Linked DNA regions of Homo sapiens: all the other regions are linked to region 3. Evidence: promoter capture Hi-C in 16 types of primary human blood cells and fetal thymus (Javierre and others, 2016). All regions are on one chromosome and are shown on one strand. Each heading gives the region's core, a stretch centred on a gene start or on the middle of the fragment in contact. The rest is flanking DNA. Distances are from core to core; before and after follow the strand shown.

Evidence for each region. The method cuts DNA at HindIII sites, captures the fragments that hold promoters and counts their contacts. A CHiCAGO score of 5 or more calls a contact.
Region 1: a contact is called between a fragment that was not itself captured here and the fragment with the promoter of MSL2 in region 3, in 1 of 17 cell types (total B cells). The highest score is 5.2, in total B cells.
Region 2: a contact is called between the fragment with the promoter of OXSR1 here and the fragment with the promoter of MSL2 in region 3, in 1 of 17 cell types (total B cells). The highest score is 6.4, in total B cells.
Region 4: a fragment that was not itself captured here is called in contact with the fragment with the promoter of MSL2 in region 3 in 1 of 17 cell types (activated CD4 T cells); the score reaches 5.2 in activated CD4 T cells.
Region 5: a contact is called between a fragment that was not itself captured here and the fragment with the promoter of MSL2 in region 3, in 1 of 17 cell types (total CD4 T cells). The highest score is 7.0, in total CD4 T cells.
Region 6: a fragment that was not itself captured here is called in contact with the fragment with the promoter of MSL2 in region 3 in 1 of 17 cell types (non-activated CD4 T cells); the score reaches 5.8 in non-activated CD4 T cells.
Region 7: a contact is called between a fragment that was not itself captured here and the fragment with the promoter of MSL2 in region 3, in 1 of 17 cell types (activated CD4 T cells). The highest score is 7.7, in activated CD4 T cells.

Annotation. Positions count from the first base shown.
Region 1 is chr3:69,081,277-69,084,225 of GRCh38, forward strand. No RefSeq gene overlaps it. Among named protein-coding and RNA genes, the nearest start is that of ARL6IP5, 2.2 kb to the right of the region's middle. RefSeq lists enhancers at 801-860, 1,665-1,824. The HindIII fragment of the contact is 2,467 bases long and covers 348-2,814 here.
Region 2 is chr3:38,164,135-38,166,834 of GRCh38, forward strand. It overlaps OXSR1 (oxidative stress responsive kinase 1), which reads left to right and starts at 1,403. Exons shown (of 18, transcript NM_005109.3): 1 at 1,403-1,812. The coding sequence starts at 1,743. LOC101928234 (a long non-coding RNA gene) reads right to left here and starts at 1,342. Exons shown (of 5, transcript XR_940733.2): 1 at 1,263-1,342. RefSeq lists enhancers at 78-1,277, 438-517, 668-797, 1,068-1,167, 1,561-2,176 and silencers at 1,408-1,797, 1,848-1,897. The HindIII fragment of the contact is 1,868 bases long and covers 1-1,457 here.
Region 3 is chr3:136,194,956-136,197,655 of GRCh38, forward strand. It overlaps MSL2 (MSL complex subunit 2), which reads right to left and starts at 1,380. Exons shown (of 2, transcript NM_018133.4): 1 at 17-1,380. The coding sequence starts at 158. RefSeq lists enhancers at 168-237, 288-337, 337-1,083, 388-457, 1,084-1,830 and 2 more and a silencer at 798-1,187. The HindIII fragment of the contact is 2,546 bases long and covers 1-2,460 here.
Region 4 is chr3:98,553,445-98,556,144 of GRCh38, forward strand. No RefSeq gene overlaps it. Among named protein-coding and RNA genes, the nearest start is that of GPR15, 23 kb to the left of the region's middle. RefSeq lists enhancers at 2,339-2,700, 2,590-2,700. The HindIII fragment of the contact is 1,318 bases long and covers 655-1,972 here.
Region 5 is chr3:186,782,513-186,785,380 of GRCh38, forward strand. It overlaps EIF4A2 (eukaryotic translation initiation factor 4A2), which reads left to right and starts at 1,065. Exons shown (of 11, transcript NM_001967.4): 1 at 1,065-1,127; 2 at 1,920-1,965; 3 at 2,052-2,184; 4 at 2,450-2,589. The coding sequence starts at 1,099. It overlaps SNORD2 (small nucleolar RNA, C/D box 2), which reads left to right and starts at 2,284; the gene lies at 2,284-2,353. RefSeq lists an enhancer at 1,741-1,970. The HindIII fragment of the contact is 193 bases long and covers 1,266-1,458 here.
Region 6 is chr3:167,736,388-167,739,232 of GRCh38, forward strand. All of the region lies in intron 1 of SERPINI1 (serpin family I member 1), which reads left to right. Among named protein-coding and RNA genes, the nearest start is that of SERPINI1, 2.1 kb to the left of the region's middle. The HindIII fragment of the contact is 3,664 bases long and covers 1-2,845 here.
Region 7 is chr3:63,909,640-63,912,593 of GRCh38, forward strand. ATXN7 (ataxin 7) reads left to right here. Exons shown (of 13, transcript NM_001377405.1): 3 at 2,949-2,954. It also overlaps SCAANT1. Among named protein-coding and RNA genes, the nearest start is that of ATXN7, 47 kb to the left of the region's middle. RefSeq lists an enhancer at 2,013-2,092 and a silencer at 2,423-2,954. The HindIII fragment of the contact is 1,242 bases long and covers 725-1,966 here.

The DNA.
Region 1 (2,949 bases), core at 331-2,830, about 67 Mb before region 3:
ATTTCTTCATTTATAAAGTGGGCATAACACTATTCACCTTGTAAGACTGATAATTAAGTAAAATCCAGAGTGGCTCTCAAAATACAGTTCCTGATCAACATCACTTGGGAAGTTTTTTTTAACACAAATTTTCACCCCTCACCGCCCCCACCACGCTCCCCACCGCCCCCCCGCCACCCCACCCTTCAGCCTTCTGCAAAGCCTGGGGTGATTCTCCACTGGTAAAGTTTGAGGGCCACTGAAATGGAGTACATAAAGCCTGATGGGTACTCAGTAAATGTAGCTGCTGTTACTACACTGTGATATTTAACCTCCTCTTGTCCTAGTTTTCAGTGAACCTTAAGGAAAGCTTGTCCTTTATGGTCCCCCAATTAGGTTCAGTTCAATAGCATTCACTGAGCTGAAAGTCAATGCCAGGCAGTGAGCGTGGGAATAGAGTTCACAGTCCCTATCAAGAGATACCAGCCTCCTTCTGCATCACATGTCTCAGCGTCAACTATGAAACTACTTTTTCTTGCCCAGACAACTCCACAGATGGTTTCACTGAGGATTTAACCTCAGTGCTTATCAAAATGGGCTCCTGTAGCCTGAACCCCCAACAATACTGGATACCCTTTGATTAGTGGTAGTGAGCATTGCAACCCTCTCAGATAGTGAAAAGCAGCAGTCACCTTAAAGGCCACCTAGTCCAGTCTCACCCATTTCACAGGGGAGGAAACTGAGGCCTAGGGATAGAGTACAGCTAGCCGATGAAGAAGTCTGCAAAGGTATCTGGCCCTGCATCTGCTTGCTTTGAGACTAACAGCCTGACTCACCATGGTGGTATTTTGATAAACGACACCAGGCACTCTCACTGGCTTAGATTGATTGACGGATTAGAAATAGCCATCTGCCCTTGCCAGGAATGAAAGCAACAGAGACATGCAAGCAAAACCTTCAACAGATTTATTTTACTTCAAATGGAACATATCATAAACAATTAGACTATCTGCTATGGTTTTTAAACAGACAGATAGTCTGAATGGTCCTATCTAGACACACCAGTCCCATTATAAAAGCCCCATCAAGCAGGGCTCGGCTTCCCACACCTGTAGTCCCGGCTACTTGGGAGGCTGAGGTGGGAGGACTGTTTGAGCCCAGGAGTTTAAAACCAGCCTGGGCAACATAGTGAGACCCTGTCTCTAAAAATAATAATAAATTAAAGCTCCAGAAAGACCTCTACAGTGAATCTGACCCCTCCCTCCCCGGAATGAACACTAACAAAGAGCTGCTACTAATAGCATTTCAAACAGTTACTGGAAAAAAGTAATGACTCATTACATGTTCATTTTTATTTAAAATAATTTAACAAAGGTAGAAATATTTAGAGAAAAAAAAAATCTCCCATACCCCAAAGAGAGAGACAGGGTTAACATTTTGGGAGGGAGACAGAAGGGAATCATGCTATAAACAGCTTTCTCTGTCTTTTCAGAATTTATTTATTTATGTTTAAACCTCTAAAGAGGTTTAATTCTTTCTTGGGTATCAATTGCCTGTGATCAAGGAGTAATCATATTGTTACTAATACACTCTTGACAGCTTTTGGTCATGCAGTTCTGAGCAGTTGGAAGATAAAGTTCTTAGTTACAGCTTCTAATACTCATAAATCTCACCAACAGTGTGGGGCCCCACTGGAGTTCCCACTCTCATCTTGACCAAGATGATTTACTCAGCTTGCCCACAGTGCTGCCTCTTGACATTCTGAAGCCCTGGGGAATTCCTCCACACCCTCTGACTTCCTGTAACTGAGCACTGAGGCTCAGTGCATCTCTATTTAGCACTCCTCTTACTGTCTCATATTTAACTAGTGTTTCCACTGGATTGCAGAAGTTTTGAAGGCAGAGCAGGATTACATTTTTCTCCTCTTTAAAAAAAAAAAGAAAAGAAAAGAAAAAAAACCCACAGTGCTTTCACAGAGCCTCAAAAGAACTCGAAATACTTGCTGGCATTGTACTGAATATTCTCAACCTTTTCCCCCTACCCAGATACATCCACAACAATAAAGTTGGAGCAAGGTAGAGAAAAGTTAGTAGATGTTTATAATGAAAGCATAGAAAACAAATCAGATTAAAGCACTATTAATAGCAAACAAGAATCGTGGGCTATCCTATTGCTAATAACAATAATAGTAACATATAACTGTGAACCTTTATTATACACTAAGCATTTCCTATACATTCCTTCACTTAGCCTCGTCTATATGGCAGATGTTCCATTATCCCCACTTTACACATGAAGACACCGAGGCTGGGAGAGATTAAGTAGTTTCTCCAAAGTCACCTGCCAGAGAGGAAGGAGCTGCGACTCTAATTTTGCTTTCTCTGACTTCACACCATCCCATTTTTCCAGAATCAAGAAAACATGAGCACTCAGGAATATTTTCACATTTTAAACTTTATTCAAAAAGCAGCACATAAGATATATCTTAGCACTAATTCCATGCAATCACCAAATTTTCCTAAACAACAGTAGTAGTAGTAATTTCTTAGAGTCGCTGTAAGCTCCTTAACTGTCTTCTGAATTAATAAGGAAAATTAAATTATGTTTTCTAGACTTTGCATTAGTATATTTCATTACTTTCCAAGTTTTCAAAAATTGGTGATCTGAGTAGAGTGAATTCACCTTGTCTAAGCCACTTAGGGGCTTAGAGACTCTGTTATCTTAGAAATCTTCACCTTAGAATTCTACCTATTACATTATACAATTAAACAAACTACTTTTTTTCTCATGCATTGTACCAATCAGCCCCTTAACTGAAAAAAGATGACCCTTGGAAGCTTAGAAGAGAATTGACAACGAATACTTCTTTTGCCAGGTCTTTGGGCTGGGATACAAAACATCACGTTATCTATGAATATATTGTGGTCCCTCAGTGAAAGCTGTCACCAAATATTGCAATAAAACTAAGAA
Region 2 (2,700 bases), core at 153-2,652, about 98 Mb before region 3:
CCCTGCTCCGTCTCAGCTGGGCCTAGGTGAAGGTCTCTTCCTTTTTCTGAGACGGTGTCTCCGTCTGTTGCCCAGACTGGAGTGCAGTGGCATGCTCTCGGGTCACTGCAACCTTCGCCTCCTGCTTCAGCCTCCCTAGTAGCTGGGATTACAGGCGCCAGCCACCACGCCCAGCGATTTTTCTGTATTTTAGTAGAGAGGGAGTTTCACCATGTTGGTCAGGATGGTCTCGAACTCCTGACCTCAGGTGGTCCGCCCGCCTCCGCCTCCCAAAGTGTTGGGATTACAGGCGTGAGCCACCGCACCCGGCCTAAGGTCTCTTCCTTAAAGACTGCCGTTGGACTGAAAGGTGTCCAACCTAGAACAGTTTCGCACCTAGCCCTATCCCTGTTGGATGCTCATTATTTTTTAAAATCCAATTTACCAAGCGTGTTCAGTCTTCAGCTCGCTAATTTCTCTAACGGCCGTACGTAGTCAAACTGAGAAAACTGTTCAGTGGGGGCGACAAAAGCCAACGCCCGTGAGACAACCCCCAAATCCGTGGGTCGATCTCACTTGTTTAATACCCCAAGCCCTGTCCGGGGGGAAGAAAGACAACCTCCCGAGTCCCTCAAGGCAGGTGCTTATTTGAGCTTCAGATCTAAAGCTGCGAATGGACAGAACCCGCCCAGTGCAGGGTGGACCCGCGAGAGACAGCGCCGCGACAAGCGTTAGAGAGAACGTCCGCCTTGAAAAAAATGTCACCAGGCAAACTTCCAGTTTCACTCCGACCAGTGGCCCAAGGCCTTTTATCCTAGTTGGCAGTGGTCCACACCCAAAGGCTACCCCACCCAGCCGCTCCCTCAGGGTTTCTCCACACCCTGTAGAGCCTTTCGCACGTCTCGAGGGTGTGACGGTTACGCCGTGACGTCACTCCAGAGGAAGTGGTAAGACGAGCGCGGTAACGGAGCTCTTGAAGGGCTGCAGCCCTAACACGGAGAAGCGCGCTAAGAGCCTGGAGGCGGGACCAATTTATGACTGACGTCTACCCACACCCATTGCTTTTCTGATTCCTTCTCAAACAAACCAATGAATGCGACGACGGAGACAGCAGCGTGCCCCAGGCGCTAGAAGTGGCTCTGCCCCTTCTACTTTGCTGCCCTTTGGTCGCCATGCTTAGTGTGGCTACTGCCTCTGTGCTACTTGAGGCTCTCCTACGGCTTTTCGATGCCTTCGATGAACCTCTACCTAAGCACTTCTTCCCTTTCACCGCGAACTCCTACCTTCTCGGGTTTCTAGCTTGCTCACTTTACATCCAGCCACACTGGAGATGGCGGCCGGAGGCGGGCCCGAGGTGGGGCGTGACCAGCGCAGTGACGTCAGCGCGCTGCGTGTCGGCAGGTGGAGGAAGAGGGGAAAGTTTGGCCCGTGCGTGGGGCTGGGGTGGAGGGCGGGACAGAGGGGCTGGGCCCAGGCAAAGCTTCTGTCGCTGCTGCTGCGGAGGCCGAGGACAGGACGTGGGCTGGGCCGGGCAGTGCCGGACTCGGAGGAGCAGGAGGCGAGGTCCGCCGGAGCTCTGAGCCCCCGCTGCTCTGCCGCGCGGTGACCCCGCGCCCCGGCGCCGTCCGACCCGTGGCTGTTCCGAGACGATTGGTGGGGGCGCGGCGGCGGCGGCGGCGGCTGTTGGGGGTGGGGAGACGCGCGGCGAGGAGACGAGCGAGGTCAGCGAGTTTGAGGGAGGACCGCGAGCCGCTGCCGCCGTCATGTCCGAGGACTCGAGCGCCCTGCCCTGGTCCATCAACAGGGACGATTACGAGCTGCAGGAGGTGATCGGTGAGAGCAGGCGCTGCGGAGGGGGGAGGCGCGGCGCTGGGAGGCGGGGGACACGGGAACGTGGGGAGCCGCGGGAGCTCGGGGAGCGCAGCCCTCATAGGAATTCGTGGGGCGCTTGTGGGGCTGGGGGCTTGTAGGACGCTTGTGTCGAGGAGCGCGTGTGAGACGGGAAGGGGGTTTTGAGGCGCGCGCCTGTGAGGTGGCGTGGGGTGGGGTGAGGCTTGAGGGGGCTCAGGAGAGATTTGTGTACAGGATTCTCAAATGTGTGGACAGGAGCGGCCCATGTGTCTTGTAGAGAAAGAAAGTGCAGGTGTGGGACAGGCCTTTCCGAGGCTGTGTGAGAAATGGGATCTTGAAGTGGGCACAGCCATCGATTTCTGGGATTGTGGGATAGATAGGGAGCTTTAAGTTTTTCCTCCATCCGTGCTGGGGCGAACTGGGGATCCTCCAGGTGAAGCTGCAGGAACCGCGCTGAGCAACCGAGACCCAACTTACGACTCCTTCCAACTGACTTTCCAGTCGGGGAGGTAGACATTAAATAAGAAGACAAAAAGAAGTAAGAAGGGCTGGGCGTGGTGGCTCACGCCTGTAATCCCACCACTTTGGGAGGCCGAGGCGGGCGGATCACGAGGTCGGGGGTTCGAGACCAGCCTGGCCAATATGGTGAAACCCCGTCTCTACTAAAAATACAAAAATTAGTTGGGTGTGGTGGTGCGCGCCTGTAATCCCAGCTACTCGGGAGGCTGAGGCAGAAGAATCCTTGAACCCGGGAGGCGGAGCTTGCAGTGAGCTGAGATCGCGCCACTGCACTCCAGCCTGGGCGACAAACCCTGACTCTGACTCAAAAAAAAAAAAAAAAAAAAAAAAATTTGAAGAGGCTTTGGCAAG
Region 3 (2,700 bases), core at 130-2,629:
ATAAAAAGCGTCTCACCGCAAACACAGCACGAAAGGGACTGTCGGAAGTAAGGCAAGAGCCTGTTAATCTCAGTAAACGCCTTGGGGTCTCCGGGGTCGTAGTTGAGCACTAGGCGGCTCGCGGAAATGTAGAGAGCAGTAGCATTCACGGGGTTCATTGCAGACACTTCGACACCAATGGCTCCCGGTTGAAAAGAAATTCCGGATCCAACTTAGTAAGCAGCCAGGGAACGATGGCGAATTTGCAACAATTCGGAAGAAATCAGAGCCGAACCATTGGCCAAACAAGTAACCAAAATCCGTGCAAGTTTGTGGAGCTGAAACAATCCTCCCACACATGGGGCCTTGGCGCCCCTCCGTCCCTGAGACTTCCAGACCAAAAATATGAGAGAGAAACCAGCGTTCGAGTTCGTCCGGAGCGACCACAGAGCGCAGAACGCGGCGGCTTGGGCGCTCGGGGCGGGACTCGGAGCTCAGTCTAGCCCCGCGGCTCGGCAGGCGGCCTGCACTCGAGCTCCATCTCCGGACACGGAGGCGCCTCCTCAAGTCGAGCTGGCAGGCGCGGGAGCAGGCCCCGGCCCCGTCTGAGGCGCGGCACGCTTCTCCCGGGCTGCAGGGCCTCTTACTCCATCCCAGTACAGGGCGCGGAGGCGGCGGCGACGGCAAGGACGACGGTCGGGCAGCGGCTTCCCGGATCTAGTGCAAGACGCCGCGGCGGCGACGAAGGTTGATGTTGCGGCTGGCGGACGCCGCCGCCGCGCTCTCCATATCGGACGCGGGGCCCAGACTGCGCCCTGGCTCTCCGCCCCGTGGGTTGCAGCCCGCAGTTCCCCGAGGTGGCGAGGCGGGCGGGAGTCCTCAACCCGGAGGGGAAGGCCGGGGAGGAAGTGCGCGGGCCGCCGCCGGCGGGCGGGAGGGGGCGGGGGGCAAGCCCGGCCGGGCCGCGGCGGCGCCCCTCGCGCCTCAGTCGCACACTCCGGGGTCACCAGACTCAAGCGCCGCCCCCTCACTGCCCGGCCATTTTTTCGGCGCCACACACACAGACGACTCCTCCGCCGAGCACGACGGCCGCCGCCGCCCTCAGCACTCCCCGGCCGCGGAAGGCAAGCGCTCACACCGCCAGGCCCCGCCGCCGCCCAGCGCACACAGCAAGGCCCCGCCGCAGGCCCCTCCCCCGTGCCTCGCCGCCCTCACCCCGACTCCACGCGCCACTCCAGCTCGGTAGGGCCCGGGCTGCTGCGGCCTTAATGGATCCCGCGGGCTGTGTGGCGCCTCAGGCCTCTGCTGGCGGCGACGACGACCGTTACCCCAACGGGCAAAGCCACTGTCATCCCCGAGACTCCCCCGCCGCCGTCGTCGCTAGCGCTCGCACGCATGCGCAGAGCACACTCTCACCCCTCCCCCCTTTCCTCTCCCTTCGCTTCCCTTTTCCCTTGCTTCTCCTCTAACAACCCCCTCCACAGCCTCCCAGAGCTACCGGCTCACTCCACGCATGCGCAAGCTGCTACCTAGCTCCGCCGCCTTTCGCCCTTCCGCGTGCGCTTTGACCGCCCACCCAGAAAACCGGATAAACACATCAGCCTGCTCGCGCCAGTCCCTCACCGCTGCCAACCCACCCTGGGCTCACTGCGCATGCCTGGCTCTCCACTTCGACTCTCAGAATGGAGCATGCTCTCTGCGAGCCGACAGCTCTCTTCGCCCCTCCCCCACGTGCTCTCAAATTCCCTCTCCCAGGCATGTGGGCTGTGGTGAAACATTCGTTAGCTGGCACATCCTTCCCCAGTGTGGGCTGCAGGCTTCCCGCATTACACTGCTTCTGTGCCCGCCAACGCCGGGGCCCGACTTGGTAGCGCCATGTGGCGCTCTGCACTGGCCTGAACGCGGCCTCTCGTCCTGACTGACCGCGGTGTGAGGAAATAGCCGCGCCAGGCCCCAAGCCCCGCCCTCGCGGCCTTTCTCCTGGAACCGCTCATCCCGACCGCGGAAAGGGCGCAGCCTCGGCTGGCTGGCAGGCTCTCGCCGAGCCGGGAAGGCTGCAGTAGTCAACGTGGCTGCGCGCCCAGCAGGCGTGCGGACGGCTTTTGCCGGGTCGGGGCCGCGTTCCGCACCTCTCTGCGGTGGTTCGCAGTCAGAGGGCTCTAAGGCCCTGGCAGGCTGTATGTAAGCGTGGAGGCTCGAACCCACTGCCCCCTCCTACCCGTCGGACCCGCGCTGTTCCCACGGCCTCTGGCCCTTGGACTCGTGCGGCCTCACCTTCATGGGTGCCGATCAGGACTTCACCGAGCTCTCACCGGAACAGAGTCCTGTTTTAAAAACAAAACGAACTCCTTTTTTTTTTTTTTGAAAGACCTAGCTTTTTTAAAAGACCTAGCTCTTCTGTGTGAACAGATGTCTTGAAGAATGCGTGATCTTGCTCTAGAACAAACCCAAATCCTTGCAAATGTTTTGTTTTTTAAAACAAGCTTTTGCCTTTTGTTTTTGCAGGAGATCAAGGGCACTGGGATATAAATAAACAAAAGCCTGACTTAGTAGATGACTTCCCTCCCATCTCAAAGTACAAAACCTTTTTTTGAGTAGCACAAATAGTAACAGGCCATAGGAAGCATTTCTTATCTCTGTACACACCAAAGCTCCTCAGCATAATTTTTCATGCACAGTAGGTACTCTATACGTTTGCAAAGTGAAAATTATGATGCGTGT
Region 4 (2,700 bases), core at 64-2,563, about 38 Mb before region 3:
ACAATCTTAATCTAAAATGACTCCTTAAATATGCTCCTCTACCTGAGATTAAGGTACTGGGGAAAAAAACGTTCTGAAAGTTTGCTACTTGTTATTCTTTCTAATGAAATACAGGAAAAACTTATTTTTCTTTGGATACACTCAGTGTGAATAAAATTAACTCATGGACCAAATTCCTAGATTTAAACTGGAAGGAAGTAAGCTCTAGAGCCCTATCTTAAATTCCCAGCATTGTTTCAGAAGGCCACTGGAGTCAAACTTTCATAGCCTTAGCATAGAGTTGTTTCATCTGAGGACCTTCTCGTGTGTCCTGCGCTGTCCAGTATATTTCTTCATTTAAAAACTTCAGTTAGATCTTTTCTCTTAATTGCATTTTTACCCAAAAGAATAAGCCAAATTCCTGCAAGGTTTAGGAAATATATGTATATGGCAAAGTACTGGACTAGCGAATATATGGCAAAGTACTTCCTCACTTCACACCCATACTCACAACAGATGTGGCTAATCAACTGCTTCCAGTTCCTGGAAATTGTAAAATATGGTAGTGAGTTTCTCTGTCAACAAATTCTCTGTTGGCCAAAGGAAGTAGCTTCTGTGTCCTTCCTCTTTTAGTCCCTTCAGGCCTTTCAAAGTGCTATTAATATATACTATAAAAGCTTTGTTAGGATCTATGTAATAAATCATTACCTCATAGAAATAGATCATTCCCTGTAATTAACCTTTTACCAGCATTACTAATCAATTATGCTTCTCTTTCTTATCTGCTCCTGTTAATCTTGTAACATTCCATATGTTAAGTAGAAATCATAACTAATTAACATTTATCCTTTAGGTAGGCCAGGCTACTTACTAAAAATACTCTGCAAAACAGTTTGTCTTCTTATGGTTTACTGTTTACAACCTGAGCCAGAATCCTTCCACTTCCAAGTAAGACTGGGGTTCAACTGGGGTGGGGAGCACATCAAATGAGGGGGTACATCATTCCCTCCTTGTCTAATGCTTTAAGACTAATCAAATCAAATTCTGTAACACTAAAGTTGGAAAAGAACTCTCTTGATGCTTAAGATAAGTAATTTTTAAGACAATGTAAATACACTTTAACGAAAGGAAAGAAAAAAGGGAAAAAAGACAATGTAATACACTTAGAACAAAAGACTTGTCATACACGATACATAACACAAAAGATTAGCTTCAGGAGAATGTAGATAATTGCATGATGGTAGATTTTTATCTTTCACTCATTTGTTCAACAAACATCAACCATTACCAAGCCAAACACTTGCCAGATACTGTTTTAGGCATTGTATATAGGCTCATCCTAGACTTTAAAAATTGTCTGGAGAGTAACCACCAGGTCGCCATACATAATATCCCTGGATTGGTCTAAAACAGGTAGGATTTGGGTGGATGAATTGTAAATCTGATCCAGTTTGGCATTTCTTATGATCTAATAACAATTCATTGTGTATATTGATTTAAGAAAATATAGAAACATAATACTACCTAATGCAAACTCTTTGATCTGAGTGATAAAGAATTTGTATAAATAGACAAAAATAAACACCCAGACTGAAGTCCTACCTGTTCACTTGATTAAAACTGTATCTCTTTAAAAGATGGATACTTTGGCCAAATAGTTGGCTTTTTCTGTTCTACGTTCTGAGCTACACCAGTTTCTCCAACATCAAAGTTTCCTTTTCCACCACCTTAATTCGCCATCCTGCTGTCCAAAGCTCATAACTTCAGAGCTTCACTTTGTCCCCAGACTTATACACTGAATTCCAGTGAACCAGAAAGAATGCTCATGGAATACAATTAGTGACTAAACAATTCCAAAACGCTATTGGTTTGCTTTCTTTCTAGACGATGTACTTAGAAGAACAATAATAAAATTTCAAAGGGACCAAAATCTTTCTTTCTACTCCTCTCACATGAATCACCACCTCCTTTGCAAACAAGTGATTATTTACAAAGCTTGTTAAAAAAGTAGTTTAGGCTTGCATTTCATTTAGAATTGCTCTATTGCTCCATATTTTGTTTTCCCCTATGATTTAAGAATAGTTTTATTGTACATATCTTTACAAATATTTAAATCAAAGAGAATTACTGTAGTTTAAAAAATAGAAAAACGGGGCCAGGCGTGGTGACTCACGCCTGTAATCCCAGCACTTTGGGAGGCTGAAGCGGGCGGATCACCTAAGGTCGAGAGTTTGAGATCAGCCTGACAAACATGGAGAAACCCCGTCTCTACTAAAAATACAAAATTAGCAGGGCATGGCGGCACATGCCTGTAACCCCAGCTACTCGGGAGGCTGAGGCAGGGGAATCGCTTGAACCCAGGAGGCGGAGGTTGCGGTGAGCCGAGATGGCGCCATTGCACTCCAGCCTGGGCAACAAAAGCGAAACTCCGTCTGAAAAAAAAAAAAAGAAAGAAAAAGAAAAAGAAAAACAACAGAGGAAAAAACACGGCATGGGTTATGAAAACAGTTATCGAAACAAAAGATTATCTCAGGTGAAAAAAGGAAATTGACAGCGCTACGTAAGCAAAAAGATCTCAGATTGTACTTGTTGACCAGGAGGTAACTGGTAATTAGGAAAGTAAACATTTCTGCCCTCATCTACTATGCAAAACTACATTGTCTTTTCATAAAATTTTGCAGAATCTTACCTTAAAGGGGAAGATCACAGGTTACTACATCA
Region 5 (2,868 bases), core at 112-2,611, about 51 Mb after region 3:
ATATATTGTTTTTTGTTTTTGTCGAGAGACCTGAGATGGGGCTAATTGAAAACGTCTGGAGCTTAAAGACCCGTGCAGTTTACGCAGCAAGGATATTATTGCTCTGAATTTCAATAAATCAACATTTCACTATATATCGGCAAAGTCTACAGCCTTTAAAAAATGACCAATATAGACGGAATCAAAACCGATGTAGTCCCAAAGCGGCACAGAGCTGTATCTGCCAAAGCGTCCATTTAAATTCGTGCGTTCCAAGGAAAATTACTGCTTAGTTTCTATCCATTTGCAAAAGTTTATGATTTTTTTCAGGCATTCCTCACACCTGTTAGGTTAAAATCAGTAACACTCTTAAAAAGAAAGCGAGAGACCGGAAATGATATGAGAATAGAATTGGCCACTCCAGAGACATCTGCAAATGACACTCCATTTTTCCTTCTCGCGCTGCAAAATGTACCGGTAAACCGGACTTCCCGGGACTCGCTGGGTGGCCGACATTTTCCCTAGCAGGAATTTTACGTTTCCAAGATCTGAATGGATGTTAACGGTCGGGCTAAATGCCAGGCAGGTCTTCATTGTGGAATTAAACAGCGGTGGGAGCAAGCGGAATAACCGAGTTCCCCTCCCGCACCTGAGTGCCGGCAGCGAGCCGCGAGCCGGGACCTGTCACCCGCGGGAAGCCCCGGCCGCCCGACGAACAGCATCTCCGGTTTCCGCCTCCGGCTCCGGCGCGGCTCCCCCGGCCCGCCTCTGCGTCAGGGACGCGGAAACCCCGTAGGAGCAGGGCGGGCGGGGAAAGCGAGGTTTAACTAACTCCGCAGCTATATTCTTCCGCCGCGAGGTAAAGAGTCCCAACCCAACCCCGGGCCCTAGGATTTCCAGCGACCCTGTAATATCGAGAAATTACCACATTTGGGTTTTTCTACCAACTTGCTTAGGATTTTATCCGAGGTAACGACCCCAGGATCACAATTTTGTAGCTGACCGAAGCACGGCGAGAAAATTCCTCCGCAAGAAACGGGTTCCGGCCACGAGCCTATAAAAAACGGGTGGTTGGGCGCCGCTGTCTTTTCAGTCGGGCGCTGAGTGGTTTTTCGGATCATGTCTGGTGGCTCCGCGGATTATAACAGGTATGCAGTCTGTTGGCGGTCGCGGTCTGTAGTGAAGGTCATAGGGCGCCAGGGGAGATGATAGTGGATGGCACGGAGGCAAAAACTCTAAATTAATGGACGTTTTCTTAGGGTACAGCACTCCTGTGCCCTTCCAGAAGCTTCCATGATGGGTAGGGCCCGGATTGTGGGGAGATAGGACGGTGGTGCGAAAGCAGTGGCTAAAGGGCGTTTTTCCTCTCTAAGACATTACGAAACTTCGGCTGCTTTCCTTCCCAGTGTAGAGCACGGGAAACATGGAGTAAAAAGCCGTGGCGCAGTCCGAGTTCGGTACACTGTAACCAGGACCCGAAGCTTTATTTTCGGTCATCCACACGAGTTGGGGGAGGGTCCTAGGCTTTACTTGGGGAAGGGTTGGAGGCAGCGGTCTCCACTCGGCCACGGCGCGGAGGCGACGGGACAGGACCGGTGCCGGTGAACCGTTGGCATCGCCCTCGCCAGGCCGCTCCGCCCGCGTCAATCACCCGGCTTGCGCATTGTTGGGGGCGGAGTTCGGCGCTCCGAGCTCTCGCGAGACGCTCCGCAGTTGAAACGGGATCGCCATGCGCTCGGGCCTGGGGGGCTGCCTTTCCGGGCATCCGCAGGCCCCAACCTTTAGGGAAGGCGCACAGTGTGGATATTCGCCCTGAGGCTGCTGCTTTAGCTTGTGCAGGGGAGGCTAACGTGCTGAGACGGGTTGCAAAGGGCTATGCGCTTAAGGTGCAGTTGAGGTGGCCTGGAAGGGGTGTCTGACTGCAGTATTCTTGTCAGCAGAGAACATGGCGGCCCAGAGGGAATGGACCCCGATGGTGTCATCGAGGTAAGAAACGGTTGTGGATCTTGAAGCTTTGGAAAGGTGAGTGTGTTCATCTCATTTATGCGTGCATTATTTTTTCTAACTTACAGAGCAACTGGAATGAGATTGTTGATAACTTTGATGATATGAATTTAAAGGAGTCTCTCCTTCGTGGCATCTATGCTTACGGTTTTGAGAAGCCTTCCGCTATTCAGCAGAGAGCTATTATTCCCTGTATTAAAGGTAAAAGAAACTGGCATTTTTAGGAAATTGTTCTACATAGACATGAACCATAAAAGGGAAAGTAACCTCTGGGGGACTAGCACCTGTTTGTATTCCTTAAAGTGAAATGATGGCAATCATCTTTCGGGACTGACCTGAAATGAAGAGAATACTCATTGCTGATCACTTGATTATTTGGGCATAATGTTCCAAATGGAATACATGGTGTGAAGTAGAAGTGACAATTTGATGTGGGATCGGTAAATGTGTATCCTACTTTTTTTAGGGTATGATGTGATTGCTCAAGCTCAGTCAGGTACTGGCAAGACAGCCACATTTGCTATTTCCATCCTGCAACAGTTGGAGATTGAGTTCAAGGAGACCCAAGCACTAGTATTGGCCCCCACCAGAGAACTGGCTCAACAGGTATTGATAGTGTAGTTCAAAAAAACTGCTTGCGTGTTGCATAGGTTTCAGGTTTCACAACTGTGAAGAATTTAAAACTTAGTATAAATTGGTCCTACCAGATCCCTCCTTTTAATTGTCCATGCATGCAGGGAGTTTTTGTTGAAAGTTTTAAAAGAACTGGGTATGCAGGTATGGTTTGTAGGGTTGTATACTAATAGATTGAGAATCCGAAGCGCTCTCTTGGATGTACTAGATCTGTCCCCATTTTTTAAGTTTGAATGCAGTTGTGCAACATGA
Region 6 (2,845 bases), core at 192-2,691, about 32 Mb after region 3:
AAGTATAACTTTTGCCAGCAATAATGTAAAAATGAATTTTAATGAATGGATAGTTAGCTTTCTTCCCAGTGGCTCTGGAATATTGGAACAAAGACCTGGATTCAGCCTACAATGGAAACATATGGTGTACCTCACTGCTGCTCGTTAGTTTCTCATTTGTGTCCGATAATATGTGTACATTTTAAAAACGAGTACATGGAAAGCTGTGTGGGAATCTTTTCTCTGGGTAGAGAGTATGTGCTGAAGGACTACCCTTAATATGTGTTATGATAGTGGGTTCAGTTTAAAACACATGTAGTGTCATAAAATAATAGTTTATTCTCGGTATTAAACTATATGTGCATTCAAAGCAACGTTAATTGTAATACCTATGGATGGAAATAAGTTGTAATGCTGGGTAAAGATGAAAGTCTCACCTACCTTTGTGTAATTATGACAAAATTACAGCCTTTTATTTTTAGAGAAGTAGTAAGAAGCTATTTTCCTAGTTCATTTTCATTTTGTTACAGAGGTTCCCAGATTACATGGCTTTTAATCATAGTAGCATATTGCAGCAAATTTTGCTCTGAAATGCTTTCATTGTGACAGTTGCATATTTCAGAGTCTGTCTCAATACTTTATGTTTTTTTTTAATAACCAGGGTCAATAAAATGGAGTAATTGTCTTGTTTTCTCCTATTTCTATGCTTTCCTGAGTTCTCGGGATTTTAAATTTTATTTTTGTAATGCATCCCAAATTTCTTTTTGAAAAGAAATGGCTCAAATGAATTCTCTTCCCAGATTAAAGTTCAGTCCTACTGAGTGCTACTACCGATAAGCCTAAGTGACTTTTCAGTGTGTATACTCTTCCCTCCCACACTCTCACATACCATAGAAATATATAGACAGATAGATCATAGAAAAACAGCTGCTTTTTAATTACCCCTAAGCAAATCAGCTAAGTATCAAAAACAGCAAAGAGCTTAGAAGAAAGAAAAAGCAACAGTAGCTGCTAAACTTAACCACTATAAGGATCAGGTTTTATCTTTGCTACAGCACTGGAGAATCTATTAATTCACATAGCTGATATGGCCCTGTGAAAATGATTTTGGGGGTAAAAAAAAAAGTGGGTATTAGGGTGACACATGGAAAAGACTGTGTTTGCCCTTGTTATTTGTGATTAAGTGGATTGTCTTGAATCAGTCTTAGATTCTTTCTCAGACCCTACTACTAATTCATTTTGTAAAACTGAATAATTGCTGTCGCTGGGTTATTTCCCCTATGTAATAATTATAATACTACCAATGAAATTCTTTCCGAGCCTTTATTAAAAGATCTGTTTGAAAGAGTTTTATTGGGAAACAGTTAATAAGCAAGCAAATGGATAGAAGATAAATATCTAAACAGTTGAAATTAAGATATACTTTGAATCTCAGCTCTTTATAGGTCTTCTGCTCTGAGACACGGTAAAGGATAGAATCTGATTAGGAATGAATGAGTTTGTGGTATTAAAGTACTGATTTTTTTCACCTGTTTCCAAGATTTGGATCCTTTTTACTGTGTCAGTAAAAGAGATTGGGTTTCAATATCATTTGAAAAAAGACCATGTTTTTATATGAGAGAATATCATTGGAAATATATGGCATTTATTTTTTACCTTGCACTCTTGATTCATGTTAGTTAATATTCACATTCAATCTCAGGTAATCTGAAGATTTTTCTTGATTGGTGTTGAAAACGTTCGTTATATGGCAGTTTATAATTCTGTGTAAAATGCTACCCATGTTATAAGCATATTACTTATTTTGCTCTTTAATTTTACTATTTGTGTATGGCTATCAGTGAATATGTATGATGAGAAAGGAAAAGCAACAGAGTGCAGAATGTCTCTCTTGAATGGAAATTGCTCTGGGGATGATTGTTCTTTAGCCAAAAACCTTGGTTAATTTCAAATTACCATATCCTTTGGTCTTTTCTTTAGAGTTCTGATTCTAAGCCTTTTGAGTAAAAATAAGTTAGCATGGATTTCTTTTTAACAGGAAGATTCACTGATGCATGCAGCACAAAAGAGCAAGACTTAAAGGTTCAAGATCAAATGGTTTTGGTAAAGAAGGATACAGGGGAATAGATATAAAGAAAACTACTTGAGAAACACACCTTTAGCAAAAGAGAAAAAAGATTTTATATTTTTTGTTAAATTCCTATAATCCATGATTCCATGACCTTTTCTCCCCCAGTCATTAATTTGTAGAGGCCTGTATTCATACTGGGATACATTACTTTTCTAAGTAAAATTGAATATTCAAAATCCAATGAATACCAGTCTGATTCCAGTTAAAATGGCAATTTTTACTGGAATAAATTTTGGATGATTAACCTTCCTTTTTTATGCTTTTATAACCCATAAATATTCAAAATCTAATGAATACCAGTCTGATTCCAGTCAATTGCCATTTTAACTGGAATCAAACTGGTATTCATTAGATTTTGAATATTCATGGATTATTAACCATAAAAATCCTACCTGTATACACTAACTTCTAAGTGAAACATTATTTGGACAAAATATCAAAAAGTAAATACCTAAACTGATGTTTTGCCCCTTTAAAATAATAAAGGTACTTGAACCAGACACTAAGATGAGCAAGAGCCCATTTATTTAATTAAGCAAATTCCAAAGGTTAAACACTGCTTTTGGGATCAGAATTAACGTACACAAATAAGGGAGAGATTTTTTTGTTGTTTCTTTTTTTTTTTTTTTTTTAAATCTTAAACCTGTAAGAATTTAGTCTTTAAAATTTGGAAGGTGTGTTTTAAGTAACTACGTTATTAACTCTTAGAGACCATGTACTTCTTTTCTATCTCCT
Region 7 (2,954 bases), core at 96-2,595, about 72 Mb before region 3:
CTGTTTTGACTTTTTTTGGTGACTCATTCCAACTTTAAGGAAACTTCTAACGACTATGGATATCAGAACATTTCTAGGAGTTAGGACTTTTTTATGGGTGAAGAAAGAGTGGGTAAAATGCATTGGCTGCAGCAAAAGAGAACTGGTTGAAGAAATACCAGGAAATGCCCGTCAATCTCTTGTCTGCACATCCTCTTCAGTTTGATAGTAAGTTTCCTAAGGGATTGAGCTGAATTGCTCAGTTTAATATAAGACACTTATTTATAGTGCTTATTTATGAGATTCCTCAATAATTGATAGCTTGCTATTAGTTTTGAGTATTGAGGTACTCAATAATTGGTAACTGCTATTTGTAATAATTTCCCTTAATAACGATCATAATGCCAAGAGGATACTTAATATTTTTCATTTTAAGCCCGCTTGTGTTTTATTAAACCAATCAAAAACTTTGAAGAAAAAAAGAGGTATCAAGCAGGAATTGGGAAAGAAGTTGAAGTACTCTAAATTGCTGCATTGATCCCCATTGGCTAGAAGTCATATTAGTGAATCTTGAAGTAGTTTCACATCCAAAAGAGGAAAGTCAAGCAATGTCTTGAGGAAGTAGGACCATACTTCATGTTTGCCATTCTCCTTATTTTTGTTCTCACTCTGTAGTTTCAGGGATCTGAAGAGCTGTACTCAACAAGCAAGCTCCCTTTGTTATCTATATGGCTTGGTGGCCGCAAGCTTTTCTTTTCAATGGTAGCTTCAAATGCCGTTAAAATCCAAATTTTCGTTTTTCTTAAGTGTAGAATTTCACAATTCCAAGTAATAAATTGTGTACTTTAGGAAAACAGAGGTTGGGTGTTTTCATGTAATTATTCAGATTTTGCAGTGATTTGGAATGAATGAAAAATTGAAAATCTGCATAGGGGTCATCTAAGCTATGTTAAAAGTTAGAAGGGAACTCTATTCCTGTCAAGGGAATTATATGTTTTACTCCTGTGCATTTTTCTCATTGATAGTCTTATGGAGGAAGTTAAAGCTGTAGAAATGATTTTTAAAATTAAATCTTTCCAATCATTTCTACTATTTTGGTTATTTTGATAAGGACAGGAAGTAACCATGGTTTCACTTTTTGGACTTGTTTGCACGCAATCCAGGAAAAAATTTTACAGACTTATTTCTAAATCTTTCTAAAATAAAAATGTGTGTGTGTGTGTGTATGTGTAAGTATGTGTGTGTGTGTGCGCTTTTAAATTTTGAACCCCAAACCCTCTCTAGCAATCCCACCTTATGTTTGGGTTGCAGTGACATTTCTTTATTAATTTTTATGCTTATGTAAACTTCCTGTGTTTCTGCAAGTTGGACCAACAAAGAAGTTGGCTACCTCTGTCACATCAGATGTTTGAGGTACAAAAAAAAAAAGAATTCCACTTCCTCCCCATCTAGTCAGAGAAAGCACTTGTGAGCAAGCATCTCTGACACACATTACAGGAGTTGATACTACTGCAGTGTGAAACATGCGTGAAACATGCTGATAAGAATCACTGTTTTTGTCTCAGGCTTCAAATTTTCACATCAATTTGAGAAAATAGTAATATCAACAATTATTGAAAGTGGTGTGGTCTGCTACTGTTTCAAGTATTTTTAATGCTTTAGGTCATTAAGTAGCCTTTTATTTTGCCATCTGTAGCCTATCGCTAAGCAAATGTTGTGTATGTTGGGGAGGGGTGCTAAGTTTTGCGGGCCAATGCTTAATTTAGTGAACAAAATTTGACCGAAAACAGTATTTTCTAAACATGTTTTGTAGGAATTCCTTATATTCTCCTAATCCCTAGGGTCTCGTCCTGCCCAAGAAAAGACAACCATAAAGAGGGAAGGACTAACAACTCAAGTTAAAAATGAATCAGATTTTTACTTTTGGGGTGAATGAATCACTTCCAGAAACTTGGGGTGGTGCCTCTAAAATATGTACACGGGTTAAAGCTTCTCTCGGTTTGTTTCACTCTCCTCCATTCCCTCGCACACTGATCTCATGTTCTCTCTTTGCTGGACGAATTCAAGTTCCCCAGGCGCACAGTGTGACTTCCAATTGCGGGTCGGGGGCACACATGTGGGCGGCGTGGCGTGCACACGGTACTTCGTCCTGACACCTGGGCAGACACCTGGGAGGCACTTCCCCGCTAGCCCAAGGTTCCCTGCACGCCCGGAGTCCGCTCTGCGGCGGCTTCCCATTCATGCTTTTGACAACTCTGCGGCCGCCCGCAAGCCGAGGGCAAAGTGCCCCCTGCACCAGCCTCTCCCGCGCTGCCCTGGGGCCGGCCGGCCGGCTCCTCCATAGGTGGCTGCATTTCCGACTTCGCCCTGGCTCCAGTCCGGGGGCTTGACGTGCAAACTTCGCCGGAGCGAGCTGAGAGGGAGGGACCGGCAAGTGGGAGGAGGCGGCGGGAGGCGTCTCCGCTTAAGGGAGCCGGCCGGGTGCCGCCGCTCGGACGGACGCGCGGACGGAAGGAAGGAGCGGGGCAGCCGGGCCGGGCCCGGGGATGCAAGCGGCCGAAGGGTGGGCAGCTGGAGGTCCTGGGGTGCGGCTCGGGCTTCCCCGCGCGGGCTGCCATGGTGGGGCGCGGGGTTGGAGCCGGGCCGCTCCGGCGCTGGCCTCCGCGCCAGGTCCTCTGAGCAGAAGCAGGCAGGGGACCCAGCGCCGCGGTGGCGGGCCGCCTGCTGCCCGTCCCCTCCCTCGGGCGGCCGCGGGAGTCGAAAGCGAAAGCTAGCCCGCGCCGCGGACTTTGAGCCCGGGGCGGGGGGTGGCCTTGAGGAGGCGGGCTCGGGGGGCTGGGCGGCCATGGGGGCGCTGTCAGCGTGCCCCACCCGGTCCGCGGGCCGCGCACGCCGCCGGAACTCCCTGGCGCCTCCTTAAAAAACGGCCCCCGCGCGACTCTTTCCCCCTTTTTTTTGTTACATTGTAGGAGCGG